Linked DNA regions of Homo sapiens: region 1 is linked to region 2. Evidence: promoter capture Hi-C in human tissues and cell types (Jung and others, 2019). All regions are on one chromosome and are shown on one strand. The core of a region is centred on a gene start or on the middle of the fragment in contact, and the rest is flanking DNA. Distances in the headings are between cores, read along the strand shown. Region 1 overlaps TRAP1 (TNF receptor associated protein 1). Region 2 holds the start of HMOX2 (heme oxygenase 2).

Region 1 (5,071 bases), core at 2,205-4,704, 780 kb after region 2:
ACTTGTGATTACATTTTCCTGATGAATTGTTTGTTGTAGTATTCTGAAATATCCTTCTTTTTTCCTAATAATATTTTTTATTTTGAAATGTATTTTACTTGATATTAATAGAGCCACTCCAGCTTTCTTAAACACACTTTTTGGATGGTATGTATTTTTCCATTCATTTGTCTTAAGTGTATCTTTTTCTTTATGTTTAAAGTGTCTTGTAGATAGCATGTAATTAGGTCTTCCTTTACCAATTCTGACAATCCTTGCCTTATAATTAGAGTTCAGTCTGTTAATGTAAGAGTAAATATCGATGTGGCTGGATTTATTGCTACCATTTTATTATTTGCCTTTTATTTGTCCTTTTGGATTTTTTCCCTGTTTTTCCTTTCCTTATCAATGAAATGTATTTGAGATTTCCATTGTGGTTTATCTAATGCTTTTTAAAGCTATTCTTCTTTGAATTATTATTTTAGTGGTTACTCTGGTGTTTGAAATATGCACCCTTGGCCAGGTGCGGTGGCTCACTTCTGTAATCCCACCACTTTGGGAGGCTGAGGCAGGAGGATCCCTTGAGCCCCAGAGTTTGAGACCAGCCTGGGCAACATGGAGAAACCCCATCTCTACTAAAAATATAAAAATTAGCCTGGCGTGGTGATGTGCATCTGTAGTCCCAGCTACTCGGGCGGCTGAGGCCCGAGAATGGCTTGAACTGGGAGGCGGAGTTTGCAGTGAGCCGAGATTGTGCCAGTGCACTCCAGCCTGGGCAACAGAGTGAGACTGCATCTCAAACAAACAAACAAAAAAGTCTGGGCGTGGTGGCTCACACCTGTAATCCTAGCACTTTGGGAGGCCGATGTGGGCGGATCACCTGAGGTCAGGAGTTAGAGAGCAGCCTGACCAACATGGAGAAACCCCGTCTCTACAAAAAATGCAAAATTAGCCAGGCGTGGTGGCACATGCCTGTAATCTCAGCTACTCGGGAGGCTGAGGCAGGAGAATCGCTTGAACCCGGGAGGAGGAGGATGGGGTGAGCTGAGATCGCGCCATTGCACTCCAGCCTGGGCAACAAGAGGGAAACTCCATCTCAAAAAAAAAAGTTTGTAAAGAGTAGCTTTTGTGATAGATACTTTGGCATACCAAGAAATATGGATGTTCCTGTCTTCAAAGAGTGTTACTGAGAAATACAAGCTTTTTCCTGCCCTAATTTGGTGAGATAAATTATACATTAACCAAAAAATTAACAGTGGGAAATGTCATATGCTGGCATATAGCAGCAGTTTCAAATGAGCAGCACAGGCTGGGCGTGGTGGCTCAGACCTGTAATCCCAGCAGCTTTGGGAGGCTAAGGTAGGAAGATTGCTTGAGACCAGGAGCTTAAGACCAGCCTGGTCAACATGGAAACACCCTATCTCTAGGAAAAAAAAAAAAAAAAGAATTTAGTCCTGTGTGATGGTGCTTACCTGCAGTCCCAGCTGTTCAGGAGAGTAAAGCAGGAAGGTCCCTTGAGCCCAGGAGTTCAAGACTGCAGTGAGCCATGACTGTACCACTGCACTCCAGCCTGGGTGACAGAGCAATCTCTTTTCTAAGAAAGAAAGAAATAGTAAATACATGAATAAATCTTTTTTTTTTTTTTTTTTTTTTGAGACGGAGTTTCACTCTTGTCACCCAGGCTGCTGGAGTGCAATGGCACAATCTCGGCTCACCGCAACCTCTGCCTCGTGGGTTCAAGTGATTCTCCTGCCTCAGCCTCCCGAGTAGCGGGGATTACAGGCACCCAGTGCTAATTTTGTATTTTTAGTAGAGATGGGGTTTCACCCTGTTGGTCACGCTGGTCTTGAACTCCTGACCTCAGGTGATCCACCCGCCTCGGCCTCCCAAAGTGCTGGGATTATGGTGTGAGCCACTGCGCCTGGCCAGTATAAAATTTTTTTAAATGGGCAGCATAAAAAGTTAAGTGCAGTGAACTCATAGGAAGAGATTATTGTGAACTGCTGGGGCCAGGGAGGCCTGAATGGGAGAGAGGGCCTGCAGCCAGGCCCTGCAGCAACTCGGATGGGAAGGAGTCCCAGCTACTGAGACTGCAGCTGCAGAGTGGAGGAGCTGCATGGGCACTGGCAGTAGTGGGTAGGGATGTGGGGGGTGGAAGGGGAGGGGTGTGTGGTGTCACATTCAAACTATCAGTGCTTCCCATTTTGTGCGACCCCAAACCACCAGATAGTTTAACAGTAAGATCTTGTAGCCTGACATTGAGGTTTGTGGTTTTTCCTTTAGGGTGTAGGAGAAACACAAAGACGGAAATTGTACAGCTAGCGTGTTTGGTATCTGGTTCAGGCAGATTTATTCCTCTAATGGTTTATTTTTTTTTTAATTTTTAATTTTTTTTTTGAGACAGGGCCTGGCTGCATCTCCCACCCTGAAATGCAGTGGCGTGATCTTGGCTCACTGCAACCTCTGCCTTGCAGGCTCAAGTGATCCTCCCAAGTAGCTGAGACTACAGGCATGCACCACCACACCTGGCTGTTTTTTTGTAGAGATGGGGTTTTGCCATGTTACCCAGGCTAATTTCAAACTCCTGAGCTGAAGCGACCCCCCGGCCTTGGCCTCCCAAAGTGCTGGGATTACAGGCATGAGCCACTGCACCTGAGTTAGTGATTAAAAGTTGTTGTAGAAGCCGGGCGCGGTGGCTCACGCCTGTAATCCCAGCACTTTGGGAGGCTGAGGCGGGCAGATCACGAGGTCAGGAGATCAAGACCATCCTGGCTAACACGGTGAAACCCCATCTCTACTAAAAATACAAAAAATTAGCCGGGCATGGTGGCGGGCGCCTGTAGTCTTGGGAGGCTGAGGCAGGAGAATGGCATGAATCCGGGAGGCGGAGCTTGCAGTGAGCCGAGATGGCGCCCTGCACTGCAGCCTGGGCAACAGAGTGAGACTCTAAAAAAAAAAAAAAAAGTTGTTGTGGAAAGTTTACATAACCTGAAATCAAATCTGCTTTTAAGAATGCTGTCAATTCAATTAATGTAATCTTGGCGTTATGATACTAAGTCTTGCAATTCTGGCTGGAAATATAGATTTCTTATTTTTTTCTTTTTCCCAATTGTGAGGACTTCTATATACTCCTCCCATAATGAATATTATATTAAATCCTTTCAAAAATATAGGCTGGGTGTAGTGGTTTGTGCCTGTAATCCCAGCACTTTGGGAGACTGAGGCAGACGGATCACGAGGTCAGGAGTTCGAGACCATCCTGGCCAACATGGTGAAACCCTGTCTCTACTTAAAAAAGAAAAACAAAAAAACAAAAAAACACAAAAGTTAGCCGGGCATGGTGGTGCACACCTGCAATCCCAGCTACTTGGGAGGCTGAGGCAGGAGAATTGCTTGAACCTGGGAGGCAGAGGTTGCAGTGAGCCGAGATCACGCCATTTCACTCCAGCTCTGGGCAACAGAGCAAGACCTTCTCGAGGAAAAAAAAAAAAAATTCTGCATATTAATTGGGGAAAAACCAAAAAGACTAGAAAAATGAAACATGGGGAAATCATGTTTAATCTTAGAGTGAGGAAGGCTTTTACAACCAAAAGACTAATTTCCTTTTTTTTTTTTTTTTGAGACAGAGTCTTGCTCTGTTGCCCAGGGTGGAGTGCAGTGGCGCCATCTCAGCTCGCTGCAAACTCCGTCTCCCGGGTTCATGCCATTCTCCTGCCTCAGCCTCCCAAGTAGCTGGGACTACAGGCGCCCACCACTACGCCTGGCTAATTTTTTGTATTTTTAGTAGAGACGGGGTTTCACCGTGTTAGCCAGGATGGTCTCAATCTCCTGACCTCGTGATCCTCCCGCCTCGGCCTCCCAAAGTGCTGGGATTACAGGTGTGAGCCACCGCTCCTGGCGACTAATTTCCTTAATATATAAAAAGCTCTTACAAATCAATAAGAAGAAGATTTAAAATGTAGTAGAAAAATTATCAGAGGATACCAACAGTCCCTTAACAAAAAAGGAAATAGGAAATATTTAAAAATACGGGACAGTGCTCAGTTTTGCTTATAATAAGAGAAATGTAAGTGAAAACTGCAGTGAAAATTTTATCTGACCAATAGGCAAAGATCCAAGAGTTTCATCTCAACACTGACTTGGCAGGAATGTAGGATGATATGCACTTTAGTACATTGCTGTGGGAACGTAAACTGATAGGATCTCTGTGGAGTGTGACTTGGCAGTATCTACCACTGCTTCAAATACATAACCTTAGGCTGGGCGTGGTGTCTTACGGCTCTAATCCCAGCGCTTGGGAGGCAGAGGCCGGGGGATCACTTGAGCTCAGGAGTTTGAGACCAGCCTGGGCAACATGGTGAATCCCTGTCTCTACAGAAAACACAAAAATTAGCCGGGTATGGTGGCATGAGCCTGTAGTCTCAGCTACTCGGAAGGTTGAGGTGGGAGGATCACTTGAATCCGGAGGGTTGAGGCTGCTGTGAGCCAAGATCACTCTACTGCACTTCAGCCTGGGCGACAGAGTGAGACCCAGTCAAAAAAAAAAAGAAAAAAAAAATTAGCTAGGAGTGGTAATACACGGCCTATAGTCCCAGCTACTCAGGAGGCTGAGGTGGGAGGATCACCTGAGCCCGGGAAGGTCGAGGCTGCAGTGAGCTGTGATTGTGCCATTGTGATCCAGCCTGGGCAACAGAGTGAGACCCTGTCTCAAAATAGTAGTAACTTACACCAGCCAGTTATTGCTGTGGTGTTTCCTGATGGTGTGCTTTCTGTTTTCTGCCATTCCTTGTGTTTATTCATTGGAATTCTGCTGTGATGAAGAGCTGCTGCTCCTCCTCTGTTTAAGTGTGCACCGATGTTTGCTTGATTTGCCGGGTCACAGCTTACAATCCATTATTGTCGTTCGTTATTTTGCCGCACAGATTGTCCTAGATTCTGCCACTGGGAGCCCTTCTGGCTGGGCTGTGTGTTCTCCTGACACACCCCGTCCTTTCTCGTCCTTCTGCACACCACTGGGTGTCCTAGGCTCCTCTGTGTGCTCCGCAGGGATCTCTGGTTCCTGTTTTTGGAGAGAGGTATTCACAAACCAAGA
Region 2 (4,497 bases), core at 1,809-4,308:
TTCGCTTACTGCTCTATCTTCCCTGCCAGTCCACTCCCTCCTCTTTCCAGCCTGTGCCTTAGACAAGGACCCCAAACAAGGATCACCTGGGAAACTCCAAAAAACAGATTCCTAGTCATAATCCCAATTTTACCAAAAAAGAAGCGTTTGGAAACCCCTTAGATCGACAAGCAGCATCCAAAGACACCAAAAACTTAGGCTCATCAAGTATTAACTTCCTGCCTCAGCCTCCCAAGTAGCTGAGATTACAGGTATGTGCTAGCATCCTACTTATTGTTCACTCTGATAGAATTTTTTTTTCTTTGAGATGAAGTTTTGCTCTTGTCGCCCAGGCTGGAGTGCAATGGCATGATCTTGGCTCACTGAAACCTCTGCCTCCCAGGTTCAAGCAATTCTCCTTGCTCAGCCTCCCGAGTAGCTGGGATTACAGGCTACTTTTTGCAAGGCTAATTTTTGTATTTTTAGTAGAGACGGGGTTTCACAATGTTAGCCAGGCTGGTCTCGAACTCCTGACCTCAGGTGATCCACCCGCCTTGGTCTCCCAAAGTGCTGGGATTACAGGCGTGAGCCACCGCACCCAGTCTAGGTCAAGTTTTTCATCTCTTTCCTTTCCAAGGAGTTAAAGCTGAATTTCAAATTTTACAGTGAAATACACAATTCTAATTTTCTTTCTTTCTTTTTTTTTTTTTTGAGATGCAGTTTTGCTCCTGTTGCCCAGGCTGGAATGCAGTGGCACAATCTTGGCTCATCGCAACCTCTGCCTCCCAGGTTCAAGTGATTCTCCTGCCTCGGCCTCCCAAGTAGCTCGGATTACAGGCACACACCACCATGCCCAGCTAATTTTTGTATTATTATTATTTTTTTCTTAGTAGAGATGGGGTTTTTCCATGTTGGTCAGGCTGGTCTCTATCTCCCGACCTCAGGTGATCCGCCCATCTCGGCCTCCCAAAGTGCTGGGATCACAAGCATGAGCCACTGCACCGGGCCCACAATTCTAATTTTCAAATATATCTTCCTCCTGGAGGAGTGATATTCCAGTTTTGGGTGCAATCCTGATGTAGAGCCCAACTGTCCTGTGAAGAGAGTCAGCTGTTAAAAGGAAACCAAAAAATCAAGGTAGCTCTAGCTGTCCAATTTTACAAGTTTTCAACAGACTTGATGAGGGGTGAGCTAAAGGCGGTCAATGCTTTATTGTCTGTAACTCACTGGCACTGGCATTTCTAGAGTTGCTCACGTTCCCCCTTTTGGTGACTCACAGCACTTCAACATGTTGCCACAGCCAAGGAAAAAAGGAAATCAAGTCAGACAATGGAGGAATCACAGGATTTCCCTCTTCACATCCCCAGGTAGATGAGGTCATTCAATGAGTGTGTTTCCAAGGCTCCACAAATTCCCACACCCTCACCAGTGTTTAAACCTGAATGTTTTATCTGATAACTTTTTCTAATTTCACCAAGTAAGCTTATATATGTCTTAACTGTGAACTCCTGATAAGCACAAATTTTGTCTTGTGATAATTTATTTTTTTCTTTTTTGAGACAGGGTCTCACTCTGTCACCCAGGCTGGAGTGCAGTGATGCGATCTCAGCTCACTGCAATCTCCACTTCGTGGGCTCAAGTGATCCTCCAACCTCAAACTCCCCAGTAGCTGGGATTACAGACACGCGCCACCCCGCCCGTTTAACTTTTTTGTATTTTTAGTAGAGACGGGGTTTCACCATGTTGGCCAGGCTGATCTCGAACTCCTGACCTCAGGTGATCCGCCTGCCTCGGCCTCCCAAAGTGCTGGGATTACAGGAGTGAGCCACTGCACCGGCCAGCGTTTCTTTCTTCAATCACACTCCACCTTGTCTGGTTTGTAGCGCCATCAACAAAACACAGTACGTAAGGATGGACAGCCACAGGCCACGACAACCGGCTCATCAGAAGCGATTTTTTTTTTTTTTTTTTTTTTTTTTAGATGGAGTCTTGCTCTGTCGCCCAGGCTGGAGTGCAATGGCGTGATCTCGGCTCACTGCAACCTCTGCCTCCCGGGTTCAAGCGATTCTCCTGCCTCAGCCTCCTAAGTAGCTGGAGCTACAGGCTCACGTTACCATGCCCGGCTGATTTTTGTATTTTTAGTAGAGACGGGGTTTCACTATGTTGGCCAGGCTGGTCTCGGACTCCTGACCTCAAGCAATCCGCCCGCCCTGGCCTCCCAAAGTGCTGGAATTACAGGCGTGAGCCACCGACCCGGCCCAGACGCGATTTAAATGGCATGACACAGGCAGGCCTCGTGCAAAGACTGCAAGGAGGTCCCGGCAGCTTTTGCAGGGCAATTAATCCACCCAGAGCACTGCGCTCAGAAAGTAATAGGTAAACCCGCGTCCGGACTAACCGGCTGCCCCCACACTTGATCCCTCCCAGTCCGACTCTGCTCCAGGGCGTACCAGGGTTCACTCGTGAAGTCACGACACCCACTCAAGGGGCACTTCCTATAGAGATAAGGGCATTAGAGGAAGGGCAGAGCCCCGGTCAATGCCAACAGCCCGGGAAACAGCCAAGCCGGGCTCCAATCTCTGCCGGCATCCCCTGTCTGCACCGCCGACGCCCCCAGCTACGACCCCGGGGGTCACCTCGCCCAGCATAGCCGTGACGCTGGGAGAGGGTGGGCCCAACGGGGACGCCAAAGAGAGCCATTCAGGCCTCCCCGCGCCCCCGGGGAGACGACTTCTGGAGAGCGGCGTCCGCGGTTTCGCCCTCCCCTGACAGCCCCTCCACGCCCTTCTTCGTCCTTCTGCCCGGCCTCACCCAGCTTCCGGCCGCCCCCGGCCGGGTCTCCCCTCAGACCGGCGCAGGGGACCCAAAGGGCTGTGGCCCGGCCAAGCCCAGGTCCGAAGGCCTGGACCGAGGCAGGGCCCGCGAAGGACGCAGCGCGGTCCGAGAAGCCGGGCGGAAGGAAGGCCCCGGGAGGGCGCGGACAGCTCACCTGCCGCAGGTCGCTGTCGCCTGTCCGCCAGCCTCCAGTCAGCGTGCCCGTCAGCGACTCCCTCAGGCGCCGCAGTCCCTGCAGCCCAGCGGACTGGCGCGAGGCCGGCGCAACGTGGGCACGCAGCGCGGGGCGGGGCCTAGAGATGACACGCCCCTTGTAGCTGACACGCCCTTGCCGGGGGCGGGAAGCGGAGTATGTGGCTTTCCCCAGGTCTCTGGAGGTTGCAGGCTCAGGCTCTGCTCAGCGGGGTAAGTAGGCGTGCTTCGGCAGGAACACTAGTGTTCACAAGAGCCGAGGTGTGTGAGGGTGCCTCAGGGTTGAGCACTTTTCTTCCCCAGTGTGGTTTAATCCTTGTACATCCACTCAGTGATGTAAGAAATAGGGTTGTCAACCGTGGCACCACCCACTTGGTCACTTGCCAATGCAATCTGCGAAACTGAGTCTCAACTCTGACACCTCGGTTACCAGTCTTGTATCTGATCTCCCTGTTGCATTATTCGCATTCTTCAAACAGCGGCCAGAATGACAGAATGATTTTTCTTTTTTTGAGACCGAGTTTTGCTCGTCGCCCAGGCTGGAGTGCAATGACGTGATCTCGGCTCACTGCAACCCCCTTCTCCCGGGTTCAAGCGATTCTCCTGCCTTAACCTCCCGAATAGCTGGGATTACAAGCGCCTGCCACCACGCCCGGCTAATTTTTGTATTTTTAGTAGAGACGGGGGTTTCACCATGTTGGCCAGGCTGGTCTCGAACTCCTGAGCTCAGGTGATCCACCCGCCTCGGCCTCCCAAATCACTGCAATTACAGGCCACCGCACCCAGCCCAGAGTCATTTTTTAGTTTTACTGAACACAAAGAAATTACTGAAATCGTGGGCCGGGTGTGGTGGCTCATGTCTGTAATCCCAGCACTTTGGGAGCCTGAGGCGGGAAGATCACTTGAGGTCAGCAGTTCGAGACCAGCCTGGCCAGCATGTTGAAACCCCGTCTCTACCAAAAATACAAAAAAATTTTAGCCGGGCATGGTGGCTCCTGCCTGTAATCCCAGCTACTCAGGAAACTGAGGCAGGAGAATCACTTGAACCCAAGAGGCGGAAGTTGCAGTGAGCCAAGATCGCACCACCACTGCACTCCAGCCTGGGCCACAGAGCAAGACTCCACCTTGAAAACAAAAAACAAAAACAAAAAAAAACTGAAATCAGTGCAAGTAGCAGCAACTTCAGAAGTGAGTTAGGGCTGGGCACGGTGGCTCCCACCTGTACTCCCAGCACTTTGGGAGGCTGAGGTGGGTGGATCACTTTAAGTCAGGAGTTCGAGACCTGCCTGGTCAACCTGGTGAAACCCCGTCTCTACTAAAAAATACAAAAATTAGCCGGGCTTGGTGGCACATGCTTGTAATCCCAGCTACTCGGGAGGCTGAGGCAGGAGAATCTCTTGAACCCGGGGGGCGGAGGTTGCAGTAAGCCGAGATCGCGCCACTGCACACCAGCCTGGGCGACGGACCAAGACACTGTCTCAAAAAAATAAA

What was found. The method cuts DNA at HindIII sites, captures the fragments that hold promoters and counts their contacts. A contact is called where the count stands out against the background at its distance.
Region 1: a contact is called between a fragment that was not itself captured here and the fragment with the promoter of HMOX2 in region 2, in 1 of the 25 tissues and cell types used here (dorsolateral prefrontal cortex).

What each region holds. Positions count from the first base shown.
Region 1 is chr16:3,696,191-3,701,261 of GRCh38, reverse strand. The region is part of intron 1 of TRAP1 (TNF receptor associated protein 1); the gene reads left to right. Among named protein-coding and RNA genes, the nearest start is that of TRAP1, 19 kb to the left of the region's middle. RefSeq lists an enhancer at 4,542-5,042. The HindIII fragment of the contact is 6,313 bases long and covers 298-5,071 here.
Region 2 is chr16:4,474,959-4,479,455 of GRCh38, reverse strand. HMOX2 (heme oxygenase 2) reads right to left here and starts at 3,058. Exons shown (of 6, transcript NM_002134.4): 1 at 2,969-3,058. It overlaps LOC124903636 (a long non-coding RNA gene), which reads left to right. Exons shown (of 3, transcript XR_007064964.1): 3 at 1-192. It also overlaps a transcript of NMRAL1 not described here. RefSeq lists an enhancer at 2,761-3,262. The HindIII fragment of the contact is 17,527 bases long and covers 1-4,497 here.